Linked DNA regions of Homo sapiens: regions 1, 2, 3, 5, 6 and 7 are each linked to region 4. Evidence: promoter capture Hi-C in 16 types of primary human blood cells and fetal thymus (Javierre and others, 2016). All regions are on one chromosome and are shown on one strand. The core of a region is centred on a gene start or on the middle of the fragment in contact, and the rest is flanking DNA. Distances in the headings are between cores, read along the strand shown. Region 1 has its middle 3.8 kb from the start of ANAPC4. Region 2 has its middle 5.0 kb from the start of WDR1. Region 3 holds the start of ZNF518B (zinc finger protein 518B). Region 4 holds the start of DCAF16 (DDB1 and CUL4 associated factor 16). Region 5 holds the start of PI4K2B (phosphatidylinositol 4-kinase type 2 beta). Region 6 holds the start of SEPSECS (Sep (O-phosphoserine) tRNA:Sec (selenocysteine) tRNA synthase). Region 7 overlaps WDR1 (WD repeat domain 1).

The links. Contacts are between HindIII fragments. The CHiCAGO score rates a contact against its expected background, and 5 or more counts as called.
Region 1: a contact is called between a fragment that was not itself captured here and the fragment with the promoter of DCAF16 in region 4, in 1 of 17 cell types (non-activated CD4 T cells). The highest score is 6.1, in non-activated CD4 T cells.
Region 2: a fragment that was not itself captured here is called in contact with the fragment with the promoter of DCAF16 in region 4 in 1 of 17 cell types (neutrophils); the score reaches 6.7 in neutrophils.
Region 3: the fragment with the promoter of ZNF518B here is called in contact with the fragment with the promoter of DCAF16 in region 4 in 1 of 17 cell types (total B cells); the score reaches 7.6 in total B cells.
Region 5: a fragment that was not itself captured here is called in contact with the fragment with the promoter of DCAF16 in region 4 in 3 of 17 cell types (fetal thymus, naive CD8 T cells and non-activated CD4 T cells); the score reaches 6.8 in fetal thymus.
Region 6: a contact is called between a fragment that was not itself captured here and the fragment with the promoter of DCAF16 in region 4, in 1 of 17 cell types (naive CD8 T cells). The highest score is 8.0, in naive CD8 T cells.
Region 7: a fragment that was not itself captured here is called in contact with the fragment with the promoter of DCAF16 in region 4 in 1 of 17 cell types (neutrophils); the score reaches 6.1 in neutrophils.

What each region holds. Positions count from the first base shown.
Region 1 is chr4:25,372,102-25,374,801 of GRCh38, forward strand. No RefSeq gene overlaps it. Among named protein-coding and RNA genes, the nearest start is that of ANAPC4, 3.8 kb to the right of the region's middle. The HindIII fragment of the contact is 3,082 bases long and covers 1-2,700 here.
Region 2 is chr4:10,120,415-10,123,224 of GRCh38, forward strand. No RefSeq gene overlaps it. Among named protein-coding and RNA genes, the nearest start is that of WDR1, 5.0 kb to the left of the region's middle. RefSeq lists an enhancer at 2,340-2,810. The HindIII fragment of the contact is 999 bases long and covers 831-1,829 here.
Region 3 is chr4:10,456,033-10,458,732 of GRCh38, forward strand. It overlaps ZNF518B (zinc finger protein 518B), which reads right to left and starts at 1,394. Exons shown (of 3, transcript NM_053042.3): 1 at 1,285-1,394. RefSeq lists enhancers at 460-519, 502-1,317, 580-739 and a silencer at 870-1,509. The HindIII fragment of the contact is 4,989 bases long and covers 25-2,700 here.
Region 4 is chr4:17,809,356-17,812,055 of GRCh38, forward strand. DCAF16 (DDB1 and CUL4 associated factor 16) reads right to left here and starts at 1,402. Exons shown (of 3, transcript NM_017741.4): 1 at 1,092-1,402. It overlaps NCAPG (non-SMC condensin I complex subunit G), which reads left to right and starts at 1,624. Exons shown (of 21, transcript NM_022346.5): 1 at 1,624-1,833. The coding sequence starts at 1,723. RefSeq lists enhancers at 940-1,029, 1,071-1,582, 1,150-1,309, 1,583-2,095. The HindIII fragment of the contact is 3,530 bases long and covers 1-2,660 here.
Region 5 is chr4:25,232,640-25,235,339 of GRCh38, forward strand. PI4K2B (phosphatidylinositol 4-kinase type 2 beta) reads left to right here and starts at 1,394. Exons shown (of 10, transcript NM_018323.4): 1 at 1,394-1,792. The coding sequence starts at 1,525. It overlaps LOC105374535 (a long non-coding RNA gene), which reads right to left and starts at 1,226. Exons shown (of 4, transcript XR_925490.3): 1 at 1,150-1,226. RefSeq lists silencers at 1,184-1,493, 1,594-1,833, 1,874-1,933 and enhancers at 1,220-1,721, 1,722-2,221, 2,154-2,283. The HindIII fragment of the contact is 3,001 bases long and covers 1-2,700 here.
Region 6 is chr4:25,160,257-25,162,956 of GRCh38, forward strand. It overlaps SEPSECS (Sep (O-phosphoserine) tRNA:Sec (selenocysteine) tRNA synthase), which reads right to left and starts at 193. Exons shown (of 11, transcript NM_016955.4): 1 at 1-193. The coding sequence starts at 113. It overlaps SEPSECS-DT (SEPSECS divergent transcript), which reads left to right and starts at 416. Exons shown (of 2, transcript NR_037934.1): 1 at 416-497. RefSeq lists a silencer at 1-46 and an enhancer at 157-456. The HindIII fragment of the contact is 232 bases long and covers 1,135-1,366 here.
Region 7 is chr4:10,104,011-10,106,710 of GRCh38, forward strand. The region is part of intron 2 of WDR1 (WD repeat domain 1); the gene reads right to left. Among named protein-coding and RNA genes, the nearest start is that of WDR1, 11 kb to the right of the region's middle. The HindIII fragment of the contact is 1,084 bases long and covers 740-1,823 here.

The sequences.
Region 1 (2,700 bases), core at 62-2,561, 7.6 Mb after region 4:
TCTTCCACGAGTCCCTGATACTGAAACCTTCTTTGGCCCCTTGGTGTTTGATACCACATTTAAGGCCTTTCACATATTATTCTGTGATTATTTTTACTGATTTTATTTCCCTCAAAGATTTAGGTCTCTTAATGTCAGCACCCATTTCATCTGCTCTTGTGTATCTTGTGCCTTTTTGGTGCTCAATAAAAATTTGATGTAAGCATGGAATTTTCTAGAGGCTTTGAAGTGGTAGGCATGCCTGAAATACGGACTGGACCCACTCTATTATGTTTCTTCTAGGGACTGAAAAGGGAAACAGATTTGTATTAGGAGGCACTTAGAGTCAATATGAGGACCACCCTAACTGAAGTTTTAAATGTGGGGATGTGCTGCGTGAAGATTAGTAGCCTTGTAGCAGGATGAGCCGTGGACAAAACCCCACAGACACCAAGATAGTGAAGGAAGTAGCTTTTAATCAGTTGGAAGCATCGACAGTCTAGTGTCTTAAAATCCGAGTTTGTTGAGTGCACAATTTCTGTCCCTTTTAAGGGCTCACAACACTAAAGATTTTACATGACAGGGCCGTGATCGATTGAGCAATCTAGGGGGTATGTGACAGGGGCTGCATGCACCGGTAATCAGAGTGAAACAACAGAACGAGAAGTTTCACAATGTCCTTCCATACAATGTCTGGAATCTACGGATAACATCGGTTGCTAGGTCATGGGTTGAATTTTAACTATCAGGCTAAGGTCAGGCAGGCCCAGGCCTGGTTTTGGGTCTGGTGCCTGGCACCCGGCTGCCTGCCTTTGGTTTTGCTTCCTTGTTTCTTAAAACAGGTACTGAGCATAAAACAATATAGAACAATACGGGGGGGGATCTCTTTCTCTCTTCTCTCAGCTTTATCTGCAAGACCCCTTCAAAGTAATCTGCAAAATACTAGGCATCTGGGAGAAGTTTGACTAATCTTGAAATATAAAATCACAACCTACAAAGGGTCCTGGTCAGCTGCCACTGCCTTCACAATGTCCCTGTTGGTCTCTCCACTGGAGTAGTACATCTGTTGCCAGAGAAATAAAAATGTCAGTTTGTGTGTTGTTTTTATACTTCTTTTATGGTACTTAAATCATGCCTTGTATAAGAATGACTTTATATACTTGTTTAGCCCTGTACAGATTAGAAGCTCGTTGATGGCAGTGCCTGTGGACATCATTGTGTTTGCTTACTAGGCACATGCCTTTTCTACGGCGATAGAGATGACCAGCCGCATCACCTGTGACCTCAGTTAATGGGAAGCAGGCAGCCAGGCTAACACATTTCTTCACCATCTAGGTAGTAGGTGCTCATAAATACCAACTGAGTGAACGGAAATGCCATTTAATATACCGCTTTATGCCTCACACCTTAACTATACTATGGAAGAAGCAGATACACTTCGAGCTCTCTAGGTAGGACAGCTTCCACAAAATCTAAAGGAAAATCCAGTTTCACTTATTTGATGTGATTTTAGTTGGACCATGAGGACCTGGGCTGAAATTAAGGGTCAACTAAGAAGGTCATTGCAATAAAGTAAAGATAAGATCTCTGCTATTTGATTTCAGGCAATTTAGTATAAATGTTAACTCAGCAAGATGAGGCTATAATAGCACCAACATTGAGCAACAAGATCTCAGAGCCCTGAGAGGCTGAGTTTTATCCCAGTTGTCTTTGGTGGAACAGTTAGTTACAAGATCCCTGGTTTAACTGCTTCATACCACTGGATACTAGAAGAGGTGAAACAGCCGGTAATCTCTAAGATGGTAGGCCTGAATAGATGGGTCAGTTTCTTCATCTGCAAGTGTGGAGAGGAGGAGTGGGAGAACACTAGAGGAAGTCAGCCCAAATATTCCACATGCTTAAAGAAGACAGGCCAGGTGCGGTGGCTCACACCTGTAATCCCAGCACTTTGGGAGGCCAAGGGTTGGGGGGGGGTGTGAAGGGTGTGGATCACCTGAGGTCAGGAGTTCGAGACCAGCGTGGCCAACATGGTGAAACCCCGTTTCTACTAAAAATACAAAGCCGGGGATGGTGGCGGGTGCCTGTAATCCCAGTTAGTTACTCGGGGCAGGATAATCACTTGAACCCGGGAGGCAGAGGTTGCAGTGAGCCGAGATCACGCCATTGCACTCCAGCCTGGGCTACAAGAGTGAGACTGTCTCAAACAAACAAAAAAAAAACAGAGGAAAACAAAGGTTGCTGCCTGTTAACTTTACAGTTAATACATGAGCCAGGTAAATCAAGGAAAAATAAAAGCATCTCTAACCCTACCACCCAGAGATAATCACTATTATAACTTCCCTGTCTACTGTTCCAAAGATAGGTTCTTGCATAAATAGGCTTACAGACACATGCAAAAATTTCCCTCAAGAAAATGGAATTTTAAGTACATACTGTTTTATGACCCATGCTTTTTCATAAGTATACTGTGAACATCGATTTATGTCTGCATAATATTCTTCAGGATAGATATATTTTTTAAAAATCTATGATGGGACATCTAGGTTGTTTGCATTTTTTCACTTTCGTAAATAACCTTATAATGAACATGCTTAAGTAAATATTTATTTCTCCTGCCCTTGCCTCCTTAAAAAGCACTGATAGCCGATCCCTGAGCCTTCTTCCCTTTTTCTCTTTATTCTGCAGTATTTTCCTAAGGATGGGGGAGGCAAAAAACGGAGT
Region 2 (2,810 bases), core at 80-2,579, 7.7 Mb before region 4:
ATTCTAATTTCTTCCTGACCAGTTAATCTGTATCTGCTTGGAGCCCCTTACTGCAGCCAGAGAAACTTTAAAAGCTTGTTGAGCCTTGGGTAGCCTAGGTTTCTATCTTGAGACCGAACATCCTCCCTGGGCTTCTGAGACACTGGCATGCTGAGGCTCTGCCTGGCTCAAGGAGCAAGTCTCCTGGGTCATTCTGTTCTGGCACCTGTCTCTGGGTCTTCACTGATGCCTCAGTTTAAGGCCAATCCACCCTCAAGCTATACTCCCATTTTGTTGCACACTGGTTTGCTTATGACTATGGGGTTCATCAGCGTCTCGACTCTCCCCTTTTTAGGGATTGAGAGCAGGGACCTTGTTGCTCGAGCACTTGTTGCAGGGGCCCACCCAGACAATTGGAAACAGAACGCAGGTGTGCCAGATCTATGAACACCTGCGTGCTTTTCAGACAGTGGCAATTCTTCCTTTTGCTGTGTGAGCGAGCAACATAAGTATCACCTGAACTTAATTCTAAAGTGGCAACAATGTGTTCTTGAAACTTCTAAGCAGCAGCAGCTTAGGATACTTAACTCTTCGACTACCTTTGGGGTAAACTAGCTCCAATTGGGTAACTTGGGCAAACCGCTAACTGGCGTCAGGTGCTAAATGAGCTGTTTAACAGCTTTCCACTCAGGGGAAAACAAGTTTGGAGTGGGTTCTGAACGCTTTATGTAACGCAAACAGTGGGGGCGTGTGGATTCCTGGAATGCACCTTGTCCTCTGAGCACGCTCTGAGTCCTGGCTTCTAGAGCCACAAACTGCAAATACGTCAGATGTGTGAGGCCTATACTGGAAGCTTTGGGGAGGAACAAAGCCACAGGAGAGCTGAATTTCTCTCCAAAGCCTGTCAAGCTGCTTCCTCACTTTCAACCCTCATGGGTTCTGTCCAGGCTCAGGAAAAGGGGGCTTTCTCTTTCCTGTTGCTTCAACTGTATCAACCCCCTAGGAAGAGCCCTATGCAAGGGTAGCGCTGCTCCCGTCTAGCTCACCCTGTGGACTGAACCCCCGCCCTTTCCACAAAGGACTGTTGGGTATAGTGGGGGAAGCCTTTCTGCTCCAGGAATTTCAGTCCCTTTTGCAGGCCTGTCCCTGTCTCATAAATAAGCTCAAGTCATATTCAAAGTTTCATCTCCGGAGTGTCCCTGGAGTAAATCACCTTTATCTACTACCTCAAGCCAGTCTCGCTGCCTCCACCTCCCCATCTGCACAGGGAGTTGGAGTGATTGCCAGTGAGTCCTCTAGAGGGTCTGACACATGGTGGGAAGTGGCTGCCCACAGCCTGAGTTAATGTGTAACGCTTTTAGCTTCGCTGTCAGGCTTTCAGATCTTTAATTCTCAAATCTCACTGGTTGGATCGAGTCCATAGTCCGTTACTAGCTGTGACTAGGGAGGGTGGTGAAATGCATGGCAAAAGCAGCTACTGGTATCCACCTTTTGACCTGGAAAAATCCGGGTTGTGGGGCCTGGGCTGTCCCTCCAAAGTGAACTGGAAACCGGGCTACCTTGCCAGAAGTGCTTGGATGCCTTTGTCAGAGGACTGGTAACAAAGCCTTTAACCTGCTAGCATAAACCTTATGCAAAAGGGGTTAGCCCGGTTAATTCTGCCAAGGCAAGAAATGAGTTATCTGCAACCCTCCAGTGAACTCGTTTACTGAATCCCTTCTTGGGGGGCCCTATGTGTTGTAAATACCTTTCTTTCCAGTTGAGCAGCCCATTGGAAAGTGGGTTTTGCAAATAAGCAAATAACTAACACCTGCATGCTGCAGCAGCTTTAAATCCCTGCAAGTCATGGAAGCTTGGGCATAACTTTTCAGTTTGAGGTTACTGAAGGATGTACTTCTAAACAGCTAATCAACGGCATAACTTTAGTAACACAGTACAAGGAATATATCCTACTTGGGTTGTCTACCCTTGTTTCTTAACCATAGCTTCAGGCAACGAAAGCTATCTGATCATCAAGATCCCGGTGAAGGGGGTGGTAACTGGGTGGAGTTGAGCCTCCACACTGGAGGACCTAAGGCCGTGTCTTGCACTGCTTCGAAGCTCCTGTAGCTGCAAAAGAACTCTGGGGACAGTTAAACAATTCCCCTGTCCCATTCTTCTTAAACTCCCATAAGTGATAGAACACAGTCGCTTCTGTCTACCTGCTGCCTGAGACTTGGTGTGTTGCTGTGAGGCCTGGTGACAGCCCCGGCCTGTCCTTTCCCGGGACCCTTCCTGGAACGTTTACTTACCCTCATACTTGCAAGCACTTCGTGTGAGCTAGATGCTGGGTTTGTGGGCCCTTGCCCTTCATCTTACATCAGGGAAGGGAACTTGGGTTGGAACTTTGCCGAGTTGAAAAGCAAGTGATGCAACCAGGAGTTAAACAGGTTGGGTCTACAGAGTCTAAACTGTCCTTTACACGTGAAAGGGCTGAAATGGATAGATCAGATATGGAAGTTTTAATTGTGCCCCTAAATAACCAACTTTTCCAGTGAAGGTAGAATCTTAGCATGCTCTCACCCAAGTTCAAGGATAGCGTCAGTCGCTCTCCAGTTGAAAGCTTTGTCTTTGGGTAACTACTTACCGTCCTAGGGTTTCTGCCTTTTCCTTCTGACTCAGTCCACAGTGCCTGGGTCTTTGCTGGCCTCCAGTTGTGTGGTCAGAGCTAACGTGTTTGGCTGTTGAGCACCGGTGTCTGGCTTGTTTTGTGCCCACAGTGCAGGGGCTTGGCTACGTGGTCACTGGGCATCCTGTGGTGCTGTGGGGGTCTGGTCTGAGGGCTGTGCCAG
Region 3 (2,700 bases), core at 144-2,643, 7.4 Mb before region 4:
GCTCTACTGTAGAAGAGTACTGCAAGCTTCTAGAGACCCAGGTTTGTCTTAATTCTTGGTGATTTCAAGTCTAAACTTAAGATGGTTTAAAGAGTCTAACACAACATTAGAGTTTAGCTACGTAGATTTGTACTTTTAAATAGGACATAATGCTCTGTAGTTTTTTTTTTTAATGTTACGTTGATAAATCGTTCATTATTACAATTTTTAAAGTCAGAGGTATTGTAACGGGATACATTAACTACCCAACTTATAAAGACTTAAGTGTTTTCTCCCGTTCGCTCTTTTGGCTTTTCCTTTCTGGTTAAGAAACTTTCATTCTTTTGAACCCTGCAATTTCTTGGCTTTACAGAGCCCCAAACCCCAAAGACACCAAGATAAGACGGGCAGGCCGGTATGGGGAGGTCCCACAATGACATCAGCATTTGGAACAATTCAAACCTTCACCATCTCTTCTCAACCTCCTATGTCCTCGCCCCCCGTAAAAGATGCGCAGGACCTCGATGGACGAGCCCACCCCTGACCCTCTCAAGGAAAGACAATGCCAGGCTGGTTTTCGAGTTTATTGTCGGCACGCTCCCCCGATGGCAGGCAGCATCCGAGGCGAGCGCGCCTGAGCCTGGGCGCTCGGAGGACGAGGCCAGGTGCATCGGGCGCATCGTCGTCTCCCAGGCGCGTCCCGCTCGCCGCGAGGGAAGGCCGGGGTTCTTCCAACCGAAGAAAACCAAAACCGTCAACGCTCAGCTCCGAGGCCCGCAGGAGGCTTTAAAAATGGCCTCCTGACGACACTTCCTGCTCGGCGCGGACGGTAGGAGCCCTCGGAGGAGGCATCCTTCATAACGCTGGGGGCGGGGAGCGCAGGCCGGGCCAGCGGCGCCACACGAACGGCCCCGCGGGACGCTGCCACCCCCGCCTCGGTCGCCCCGGCGCGTCGGCCGAGTCCGCGGGGTCGCGGCGCACAAAGGCGAGCTGGGGGCGCCGGGCCGGACCCCGACCCTAGGCCAGGCCCGCGTACCTGCTCAACGCGCGCCAAGCCGCGGCCCGGGCCCCCACCCCAGCCGGTGCCCCACGCCCACCAGCCGGAGCCCGCGTTCGGCCTACCCGGTGCCACTTGCCACGACGCCAGCCCTCAGCGCGGGCACGCGGGGCCGCGGCCGCTCGACCCGCCCCGGCCTGGCCCCGTCAGGCCCCCGCCCCGCGCGCCCCCACGACCCGGCCGCAGCTGGCGCTTCGGTCACGTACACGCGGATCCGGGGGCCCTCGCCCTCCCGCTCAGCTACTTACCCGGCAGGCCGGATTCGGGTGCCAGGTCCCGGCGAAGGGGCGTCTACACCGCCGGCCGCAGACCGCCGGCGCCGCGCCCGCTGTAGGTCCCTACCCGGGGGGCGGAGCCCGCGCCAGCCCCGCGCGTGCGCAATGTGAAGCGGCGGCGCGGCTCCAGCGAGGCCGGCGCCTGAGGTCTCTAAGGCTGCGCCCGCCCCCGCCGGGCTTCTAAGCTGTCCAGAGCGGGGAGCCTCAGACCCAGCCGAGCCCCACTTCTGGGCTTAGAGCTTGACCCAACACGTTCGCACCGTAGCGAGCGAGGTCCACATTTAGCCATGCCGCAGGCAAAAGAAGGATTCGGCTTCGGTCCTGGCCCAGTCTGCCATCCCGGGGCGCCTGCCTTGTACCGGGTCCCGCGGAGGGCGGCCTTGGCGCCTGCCTCCCTGGAGCCTGCAGTCCTGCAGTGGGTGAGTGAAAGCGAGAGAAGAGGAGCTCAGGTCCTCAGCCTCCAAACTCGTCTTCTTGGAGAGCTTCAGTGAAGGAGATGGCCTTGAAGTCCTGGGTACAAATCCTGACTCTCCCTACTCCTTTACATCTTAGCTGCTGGACCTTGGCGAGAAAGTCCCCTGACCTCTCTCAGTGTCTTCATTTCTGAAGACGGGGAAGGTCGTATGTGAGGCGCAAAGCCTCCTCTAGCAGTTGGGCGTTGCGAGGGTCAGAGGGGACAATGACTGTGGGAGTCTGGAGAGGGTGTGAGCTCATTTAATGCCAGAGTTTCTTTCCTGCCTCCTGGACTTCGGTGCTATTTTGGGCGAGCCAACTGCCCTCTAGATACACCTGCATCTACGGTCCGGAAGGAAGACATATTTAGAATAGAGCCTCTAAGAGGAAAGAAGAAGACCATATTGCCAGGTCCCGCACAATCAGTGACTCCCCACAAAGTGAAACAGCTCTCCAGCAGGGGCAGGTTGAGGCATGGGAGCAGCGTCACTGGGAAGTACAGTTTCTTCGGGATGAACAGCTAAAGTTTATTTCAAAGCTCTGGAGGCGGGGGCGGGGCAAGGCTGGTTTCCATCACCTTCCTGTTGGCGGCCAAAGGTCGGCGTGCACGGACAGCGGCCAGTATGCTGCACGGAGGAGATGTGGGCCTGGGCAGTACTGCCACACGGAGAAGCGGAGTTGAAGAAGACAGGCTCAGCCACAAGTCCAGCAGCTGGGCAAAACCTCCACCACTAAAGTATCAGGAGCTGGGCAGAGAAAATAGCAGCCCAGAGAGCAAATCCTTCTTCCTGCCCTAGGCTGCAGTGCTCCTAACCTCGGTCCTGATCAGGGAGCTGCTAGGGTCCTGGTTTTCTATCTCCTAGGGCTCAGAAAAGCTAAGGAACCTCTTCTCAGAAAAACACATTTATGTGCAGATAGCACCTATCAGAGAGAATA
Region 4 (2,700 bases), core at 152-2,651:
GCAATATTGATTGAAAAAAGCCAGATGCACATATAATTATTCATTTAACGGTTAAAACATGCAAAATAGTACAATATCCTCATTCAGGGATTTATTCATGTCATTAATATATTAAAATATGTCATTAAGATATAGAAAGCTGCATGGTAAAAGTTAACAGTAAATTCAGAAAATCCATTACTTCTTCGGAGGGCAGGTAATTCAAAAGGAGAAAGATGTACAGGTGGCTTTAGTAATGTTCTATTTCTTCAGCTGGCAGTAGGTTACTGAGGTGTAGGAGAGGGAAAAACGGCTTCCCTCCATCCTCCTAGGTTCTTTGGCTGGGTTACAAATTAACCTGACATAGACATTAACAAGAAAAAAAACCCGTACTTAATTACATACGCAGAGGAGTCCCACCATGGTCAGATGATTGAATATTATACAGCATCCTACGCTACTCAAGAAATGGGGGCTTGCGGCTTTCTGGGGGATGGTGGCCACAAAGTTGTGGAAAGGTGAGGGGAGGAAATATACGGTGAATAAAAGTTGTCTTGGTATGCAGATAAGATCTCCCAGGTAACAAAAATTATCGCAGAGCTGCCCTCTTTCTGATACAGATCCTTTACTGATGTATATTTCCTCTGTAGATGTCAATTTCTTTTACAACAGGACAGATTTTCAGAGCGACTCCTGTGTCTGCATTTTATCAGAATACCAGCTCAAAATATACTCTAGAAGTATATTGTAGGGTGGCATATTTTGGTCTCCTACAGTCCTATTTTTGGATGGTGCATCCTGAGATCCAACAGAAGTTCTGTCTGATATAATTTCATTTAAAATTTAAAAACCTAGTTCCTACTCTTCTTTATTTTAACCACTACCCGAAAGACCTTTCCATTCTCTTGAGTTCTCCCTTAATACACTGTCCTTATGCACACTTGTAAACAGGGCCTACACAGCTGCACATCTAGAAACGGCAGCAGCTAAGTTAGCCCGCACCCCCCTTCGCAACGATCCCCGGACTGCCTGCACGCCCTGTGGAACCTCGCAGTCGGCTTCACCAGGGCAGGGACTAAGGCCTTCAAAAGACAGCATCCGTCTCCACTAACCTCGGGTCGCCCCGCTCAGCGGACCCAGCAGCGTCGTCTCCCTTCTCAGAGGTGGCCGGGCCTCCGGAACGCGCTACGAACTTTCCTTTGTCGCCGTCTCTCGAAGCGGAGCCCTCGTGTGGGGATCCCCCGCCCTTCGGCCACAAGGGAGGTTGTTATCCTCGGCAGATCTCCCGTTCTCACTCTTGGAGGATCGCTTTTTCTTTCTAGCCTCACGCTCAGCCGCACGACCCAGCCAGGCCTAACGCCAGCAGCCCTTCCCCTCCGGTGGCAAGGCCACTCCGCTCAGCTCCCGCGCCGACGCTACTTCCGGCCGAGTCAAGGCCCCTCCCCCTTAGAAACGCCACTTCCCTCCGTGAAAACGGCTGGACAAGGTTGAACCTAGACGCATGCGCCCAAAGCGCGGGGTGCGAGGTGGGTGGACCCATCGCTTCCCGCTCTCTTCTCCCAAAGCGCTTACGGCAGTCTCGCGGGATTTCCCCCTCTCGCGGGAATTATTTGAACGTTCGAGCGGTAAATACTCCCTGGGGCTGTCATAGAAGACTACTCGGAGAGCGCTGCCTCTGGGTTGGCGGGCTGGCAGGCTGTAGCCGAGCGCGGGCAGGACTCGTCCCGGCAGGGTTCCAGAGCCATGGGAGCGGAAAGGAGGCTGCTGTCGATTAAGGAGGCCTTTCGGCTGGCGCAGCAGCCGCACCAGAACCAGGCGAAGCTGGTGGTGGCGCTGAGCCGCACCTACCGCACGGTAAGCGCTCCCGGCCCCGGCCGCCGCCTCTCGCCCGCCCCGGCCCACCCTCCCTCAGGGGCCCTCCGTGGCCCTCGGGCTCGGCGCACCGTGACTCCAGCCTTGTTCACCTTCGCGACTCACTTCATAGGGATCTGAGGTTCGGAGAAGTCAGGGACTTACCCGAGGTCGCCTGGGCCCAGGCCAGAAAGCCTCCGAAGCCTGGGCGTCGTTCACACGGGCCCCGCCTTGGCTTTTCTGAGCCGACACCCCCAGCTTCTGGGCGGCGTGGACCGTTATTCCTTAGTCCGATCGTGAACGTGGAGAGAAACATTTACGACCACCGAGGCGATCAGACATCAAATATTGAACCGCAGAGTGGATCCTGAATGCGGGGGTTCAGTGGTCGTTGCCCCTGGGGTCATCGCTCCCCGCCGAACATCAAATGATTCTACCCTTGTCCTACGGTTACGTTGAATCCAATCACCAAATACCAAATTATTTTTAGGGCCTGGCCATTCTTATTTATGTACATACTATTTGTTTGTTTTGAGTGGAACCTTGAGAAGAATAGAACAATTAATTTGGGGAAGATGAATTATCTTGAGGTCCAAGAAAAATTGTGAGTAAACATCACAGGGCTTTGAGGATATGAGATAGGATGTGCAAGTTATCTCATAAAGAAACTGCTGGTGATAGGAAGGCCTGAATATGAGAAATATAAAAGCCAGTATTGATTTTGGGTTGTTGAAGAAGCGTATTTGTAACGTACTGGTACTAAAGGCTTATTGAGAATCAAAGATATTGAAAAAAATATATCAAAGGAATCTTTTCACTGTCAAAAGTCAAGCTTGTGTACTCCCATTATAGCCTGGAGAGAAATTCATG
Region 5 (2,700 bases), core at 164-2,663, 7.4 Mb after region 4:
TGACACGTCCTTGTTTTATGGAAGGATATACATCTTGAAAGGTTTAAGGGCCAGTAAAGAATTTACTATGATTAATTTGTTGAGGACAGTCATCCTGAGACTGAGATGCATAAGGCTTTTTTTTGCATTTTGAGGAGGGTCTGGCTAACATATAAAGTTTTAATACAACTATGGGAAGTAACAGCTATCCATTTGGGAAAAGCATTGTAGTGTTGAGTGACTTCAGTCTCCAGGCTTAACTCTCCCTTTGACATAACAAGTTGGGGGTGGGGGGTGGTTCTGAGATTTTTATTTTCCTTTACAGGGTCAAAGAGGAAATCATAAAGGAAATTAAAAACTATTTTCAGCTGAAGGAAAACAAAAGCACAGTAGCAGGCCAGGCAAGGTGGCTTATGCTTGTAATCCCAGAATTTTGGGATGCTGAAGCAGGACGACTGCTTGAGACCAGGAGCTCAAGACCAATCTGGGCAACAGTGAGATCCCATCTCTACAAAAAATTTAAATTTAAAAATTAACAGGATGTGGTCGTGCACACCTGCAGTTCCAGCTACTGTGTCTTCTACAGTTTAAAGCTGAGAAGATCCCTTGAGCTTAGGAGGTTGAGACTGCAGTGAGCTATGATTGTGTCACTGCACTCCAGCCTGGATAACAAAGTGAGACCCTGTCTCAAAAATAACAACCACCAAGAAAAAAAAAAAGGAGAATTCAGCTAAAGCAGTGCTTAGAGGGCAATTTATAGCCTTAAAATACTAGCATTGGAAAAGCAGAAAGATCCAGAATCAATCATCTTCTACTCTAAGCAACTAGAAAAAGAAGAGGAAATCAAAACTCAAGTGAGCAATAAAGAGCAAAATAAGGCAATGGACCAGAAAACAGAAAATCAATGGAACCAAAACATGACATTTTGAAAAGATTTAAAAATTGATAAACTTCTAGCTAGATTAGTCAGAAAAAGAAAACATACAAACTGCCACTATCAAGAATATCTGAACAAAGACAAGGTCCCTGCCCTCCTGGACGTCTACTGGAGGAAAGAAATGTCATACAATTAAATCTATAGTTACAGATTATGGTAAACTCTGAGAGAGAATTCTGTCAGGGAGAAGCCGCTTTTGGTTGCAGGAGGGCACCTCTTTGAAAATTACTCACCTTCCCGCCCTCCACTGGGAGTAAAGCGAGCTGTGCCCAGCTTCTCCCCGCGCTCACGGAAGCAGGTGGCGGCCCCACCCCACCTGACCCCTCAAAAGCCCCGCCCCCTGTTCACTCCCACGTGCCCCGCTGCCGCCGCCGCCGCCGCCACGACCCTTCTGCGCAGGCGCGGGGGTGGTGCCTGGCGGAGGCGCGAGGTGGGGCGCGGCCGGCGGCGAGGCGGGACAACCGCTGGGCGGGCGCCAAGCGTGCCCGTGCGCTGGTGAGGTGGCGTCCGTTCTACCCGGTCGCTCCCGTTCCGCGCCATGCAGAGCCCAGTCTCTGGCACCTGGCTGCTCTGATCTGGTCTCAGCGCGGAGGGAGCAGAGGGAGTCCATGGAGGATCCCTCCGAGCCCGACCGGTTGGCGTCCGCGGACGGCGGGAGCCCGGAGGAGGAGGAGGATGGGGAGCGGGAGCCGCTGCTACCGCGGATCGCCTGGGCCCACCCGCGGAGAGGCGCCCCAGGCAGCGCCGTGAGGCTGCTGGACGCTGCCGGGGAGGAGGGCGAGGCCGGCGACGAGGAGCTGCCCCTCCCGCCCGGGGACGTGGGGGTCTCCCGGAGTTCGTCCGCCGAGCTGGACCGGAGCCGCCCCGCGGTTTCAGGTGCGACCCGGCCCTGCCCCACTCCCCGCGCCCCTCCGGGCGGCTGCCCCTGTCGCCCGGCTCGGTCCTGTCTCCCGCGCGCGCTGGCCGAGGTGGACGGGCTTTCCCCGCTCGCTGGGCAGCAGCTCCCGAGCTCGGACCGGCGCCAGCCGCAGCCGCACCGCGGGCACCTAGCTTGCTCGCTCTTTCTCCGGGAGCTCCCTCTCCTAAGGCCAGTGGTTGTCATTAAACCGATTCTTTAGACCTCCCCGCAAAGTGAGTCAAAACTTCTAGAAACCGACACTGGGGAGAGGTTAACGCTGTAAAATGACGTAAGTCCTTGCTCAAGTTTGGACTTGACTTTTGAATTAAGAACCTTGAACTCTCAGGAAAGTTCCCGGAGTGGTGAATTTGCAAAGTGGATGACAGGAGAGAGATGGACAGCCAGAATATCCAGTTGCCACTGGGGCACGTTTCAAAACCTTTTTCTATTAAATGTTGTTATTATGAAGTTAGCCACAGGGGGCAAAAGCAGTTGAAAGTCTGTTCCTGCCCTCTTACAGTTTAGTTTCTCTTTCTTGATTTACTTCTAATACATAAGAAAACCAAAACGAAAAACCTCTTTTCGCTATTAAGCGGACTGATAACCTCAGGCGAAACAGGGCAGTTGAAATGATGTTGAAGGTTAAATTTAGGTATGCTGTGCAGGCCTGGATATTTATTAATAAAGTGAGTTTTTCTGGCGTGTTGAATGGAGTTAGACAAATGTGATGGAAATAGCAAGAGACTTGTAAGACTCTCAGCTAGAGGTGAGACAGACTTGTTTGTAAAAAGGCGATGGTACACCTCCCTGCTGGTTGTGAGGATGGATTAAATGAGATGTTGTGCACCCGGTTGGTTTATCGCTTCACACATGACAACTTAAAAAC
Region 6 (2,700 bases), core at 1-2,500, 7.4 Mb after region 4:
TTCTCCAGAAGCAGCCGTATGAGGTGCTCATGCGAGCGGCGGGCCTCACAGCCCTGCCGCACGTAAGCCGGCGACACCAGCCGCTCTCCCGCCGCGAAGCTCTCGCGGTTCATGACAGCGGTGGCGACAGTGGCGAATAAGCGGGAGCACTAGCTCCACACGCCAGACACACGACGGAACCAGAATGCAACTCGCCGCCTGGACGGTACGGCAGCGCCTTGGGACAAAAAACAAAACAAAACAAAACAAAACAAAAAAAACACTTCTCGTTCGTGCACATGCGCAGACCTTCTCAGATGGCGCTCCAGGAGGAAGTTGGCGTATTTGAGCATGCGCGAGGGAGTCCGCGCTTTTCGCTGACTTTTGGCAAAGGAAGGACTGAAATTAGCCCCGCCCCGCTGCGGCTGATTCGTCTAGTTAAACCCTGGTGTTCCTGACACAAACTTCAGGAAAGGATTTTGCACTTGTGCAGACCGGGCGAGCAGAGTAAGAAGCAGGTACGTGGGTTTTTCCAAGTTCTGTGTTTCAGTCCTGTTGGATGGTTGAGATCTGTGCAGGGTCTGTGCTTCCGCCTTATTCAAACTGTCAGATGCCAGAACCTTCGATCTTTACTTTGATACATTTCCACACTTATTACTGCCTCACAACCCCATAGGAAATAGCAGTGCCCCACTCATTTTCCCCTTGACACTACTGTTTAGCCATAGCACTTACTACTCACCACGTGACATGCCAGACGTTTGTTTATACACACACACACACACACCCATACCCATGAATGTAAACTCTCTAACCTAACGGCAGGACCTCGGTTTTTGCTGCGGTGCCCCCTTCCCCCGGGCACCTAAAACAGTGCCCAGAATAAAGTAGGGCCTAAAAAAAAAGTTGATATTGAATTAATGAATTAGTTTGACCATTCTGAAACTATCCCCAAGAACATTTTGTAAAATTGATTAAGGAGGGGAAAAAAATCCAACTAGGCTTACAGCTGCTGTTATTAAGCCAGCTTGCAGTGTGGCCGACTTTCTTGTAGCTGGTTGCTACTTACTACCCCAGGAGAATGTGGCCCTTGTCACAAGACTCTTCATTCTTTTTCTGCTCTGAAGATAAAATCTAAGACATTATGAGAAGATAAGCTTTCTGTTTGCATTGCTTCTTTAGGTCCCGCATACCAACAAAACTAAGGACGCCAACTTGTCTGGAAGGCCCAATAAAAAGCTGATTCATGGAGGAATGCAATTGTCACATCCTAATGATTTCATCTCCCTTACCCCAACGAATCGATAACCCCAAATTTTCCAGCCCCTCACCCTCCACAAATCCCCTTAAAAAACTTTGCCTAGAACCCCTTGATGAAATGGATTGAAGCTTGAGAACTCTTCCTGTTTCCTGGCTTGTAACTTGTGATTATTAAAACTTTCTCTGCTGCAAGCCTGCTGTCGGAATACTGGTCTGTTTCTGCACAGCCGGCATAGGAACCTGGCAGTGCTGTAACAGTTCAACAACTTAGAGGTTCACTGCTGGAGATCCCTGCCTCCAGTTTCCTTACAATCTTCATCTTATGTGAGCCTACAGTAATTCCTGACATTGCTTTCACCTGGTGGTTTGTCCATTTGCACTGAGTCACACCCACTTGCAAGAGCTGATTGTTAAATGTTCAGTAATTTTGTGAGCTAGTTTTCAAATACAGCCACTCAAAAATTATATTACAAGCAAAAGTAAAAATACTCAAAATTTGTCACTTCCTAATTATTTTACATTTTACTATTATCTATGCTCTTCAGGTTATTTACATGCATTTTATCTATATGGTGGAAATTCAATGTAATGTTATACTACTGCACATCTTCCAACTCCTCTTTTGATGATGTCACGTTGGCCATGGTGGGAGCATTTACACCATGGAAATCAGTAAACACCGCTAATCAGGCCCTTACACTCCAACCCACTCCCCTAGAAGTCAGTTGTTCAACATGTACCAGCTCATCACTGTTTCTACTGCATGTTCCCATGGCATCCAGCTATTAATATAAATCAGTCTATTTATGGTATTTGTTGAATTGCATTTCAATTGTTAATTTTCTGTCTCAACTAGACTGTGAACTCCTGGTTCACAAGGGCTATACCAATATCTGTGTTCAAAGCACAGCACTAAATACATAATAGCTGTTTGATAAATATTTGTTGAATGACATAGAGCATTTAACTACTTTAAACAGAAAGGTAAACCACAAAACAACAAGAATTTAGCATACTTTCTAAAATGAGTATTTTTCAAACTTTTGGAAAGTTGTGTTCCTATTCTCAAAATGCAACTATTTTTGCAACTTCTTCTTTGGAAAAGCCTTCAAAGCTGCTTTGTCAATCACATGCAAAATGTGCAAAAATCCCAAAATTAATGTCATTACTGAATGGACACGCCAGGTTTTTGAGCCAGCTTCTTCTCTTACCTTATTCACCACCTTACTTCAGAAAAATGTTTGTCTGTTTCCAAAAAGTTAGTCATTGTCAAGATATGCATTCATTAAAGGTATTCAAAAGATACCAGCTTTGGAAGCAATTTCAAGAGAAGTATTCTAAAATTACTTTCATCCATTCACTCACCCAACAAGTATTTATCCATATGCCCATTTTACAGATCAGGAAAGCAAAGCTCAAGAAGTTTGAGTAATGTATTTAAGGTTATACAATGAGTGACAC
Region 7 (2,700 bases), core at 32-2,531, 7.7 Mb before region 4:
ACAGAAGGAATGGAGAAGCAGTCAAGCTTCCAGCTCTCCACATCAACAGATATGGGGTGAAAGGGGTGTACAAAGAAACACTGAAGCTAAAACCGTGAAGAAAACCGCAGAAGCATACCACTTGCCTACGTATCTACTGCCTGCCTACCTATCTCTGGGTGATAGAATTTCATGTTACTTTAATTCGTTCTCCTTAGTCTATGACTGTACAACAAGGTGATTTTTTTCCTTTTCTGCTTTTCTGTACTTTCCATAATACAGAACAAATATATCAGTGAAACAGATACACAAAAGGTGGATTAGAGCAAGAAGCCCTGGTTCTAATCCCTCCCATTTGTGGGAAGCTGCATTCATTCCAGCGCTCTGTTCTCTTCCGTGTTTAGGACCAGCTCTCCTGGCTGCCAATCAATGTTGGACCCCAAACTCAGCGCCTGGCTGTGCTGTGCAGGAGCAGAGCAGGACACGCTGTGGGAGCCCTCTCTATCAAAAACTTGGGTTTGGAAAGGAAAGTCGATTCCCCACTCCCTTGCATAGCACAGATCAAAGGCTGGGTGGACTTTGTGGCAAAAATGGGGCCAACATTTGAGACTAGAAGCATCTTCAGCAATGAGGTTTCAACATGTAATGTGCTAAAAGTAGATCCCTGCGCCTCCCTCCCGGCATACACACACACGCAGGGCCTCAGTGAAACAGAAACACACACACACACTGGGCTGCTCTCAATCTGTCTCCACAGTGAAGCTTTCTTTCAGGAGGGAATAAAGACATGGCCATCTAATCTCTGCTACCTACTGTCAGCTTTTTACAAACCAAGTGCTCTTTGAAAGAGGCAGCTTCCCGCCAGCTTGAGGCTTAGGACACACCAGACTCCTGTGAGGGTGCCCGGGCACCCCTAGCATGACCCCACCTGCTGCCACCCCACCCCTCATCTCCCTTAGACCCCTCCTCAAGACCTGAGGGGCCCCCATCTCACGAGACTGAGACCACAGAAGTACAGACCCTGATTCCTGCCCACCTTCTGCCATCCTGTTTAAGCTCCACGTCTGTGTGTAGTCTGTGCCCTTGGCCAGCACCTCTCCCTGCCTACGGACACCCACTCACCCATCAGGCCTAACGGAAGCGTTCCCTCCTCCATGAAGCCTCCAAGTATGGCCCAAGCTATCCGTATCAACTCTTCTGTGCTTCCAGATCATTTAACATGTCCACCGGGATGGCACAACACACATCATAGTCCCTAGCATTCCTGTCCATCTCCTCCAACTCTGCTGTGCCCTGCTTAACATGACCTTTATCTCACTAGCCATCTCAATAAGTGGTTTGGGGGAGAAAAAAAGAAGTACACACAGACCTTCTCTTTCATCCCTAAGACTTAACACAGCATTATGTGATATAATAGACACCAGTCATAAATTAATCCATTTTGGGATAATCGTTCGCCAGTGAAATTAGAATGTATCAAGGTGTCTATCCAAAGAAGATACTACGAATGACAAGTAAGCACATGAAAAAGCGCTCAGTGTCATTAGTCTTGGGAAATGCAAGTCAAAACTACAACAGAATACCACTCCATACTCACTAGAATCAATAAAAAGAAAAGACTGACATCACCAAGTGCTGGCAAGGGTAGAGGGGTGGGGACACTGGAATGTTCACACTGCTGGTGGAAATGCAAAATGGTACAGTTGGAAAAGAGTTGGGCAGGTTATTTATAAACCTAAACAGACACTACTCACACCAAACACCAGCAACCCCACTCCTAGGTATCTGCCCTGGAGAAATGGAAGCATGTGTCCACCAAAAGACACAGGAGCAATGTTCACAGAAGCTTTCTTTGCAATGGCCAAAAACTGGAAATACCCAAATATCCATCAACAGGTGAACAGAGAAACAGGCAACACACCGCACTGCTTAGTGATAGAAAGGAACAAAGTGCAAATGCACTCAACACCAGCTATCAATCGCCAACATGTTATGCAAAGTGAAAAAGCCAGACAGAAAAGACTACACATTGCCTCTCACTTCATATGAAAGAAGATTTTAGAAAAGGCAACCCCAATGACAGAAAGCAGATAAGCAGCTGCTGGGGGTGAGGGTGGAAGGGGTGGCGGGGGCGGGGGGCACCCTCCGGAGTGACAGGAATGTTCTGTCATGACAGGGGTGGTGCTTATGGGACTATATAGGTCATCTGTCAAGATCCAAGCCACACACTGAATACAGACAAATTCTACTGTATCTAAAGTACACCTCAATAAAACTAAGATGCTGGCTATTTATTAAATGTCTGCCCAATCCAACCCTCTCCCACTCCAATTAGTCCTTCATATTCTGACACTGACACATCCCTACCCAAAGCACCTGGCAAGAAAATGATCCACTTAACAGGCAGCCCCTCCAAGACCCTGTTCGGTGTACACTCACAGCTGACTGGGGATGGGGGAGGTCTCACGCTCACATACAGGGGCACCTGCCCATCCCGCCAGACAGATGGCCTCGTGGGCTCTCCCAGCCTGGACGACCTCCTCCCCAGGCCGTGCTGCCGTAGAAAGGGTGGGGCTCCCATGGGCCTTCCGCTGGGGAGGGCATCCAGAGATGGAAGATGCCTGGGCAGGGGCATGAGAGGAAGTTCTGCCCCTAAAAATTCCTTCCCCTAAATGGTCAGGGCTGTGTGTAAAAACCCCAAAGGGCAACAGAATCCTGCCA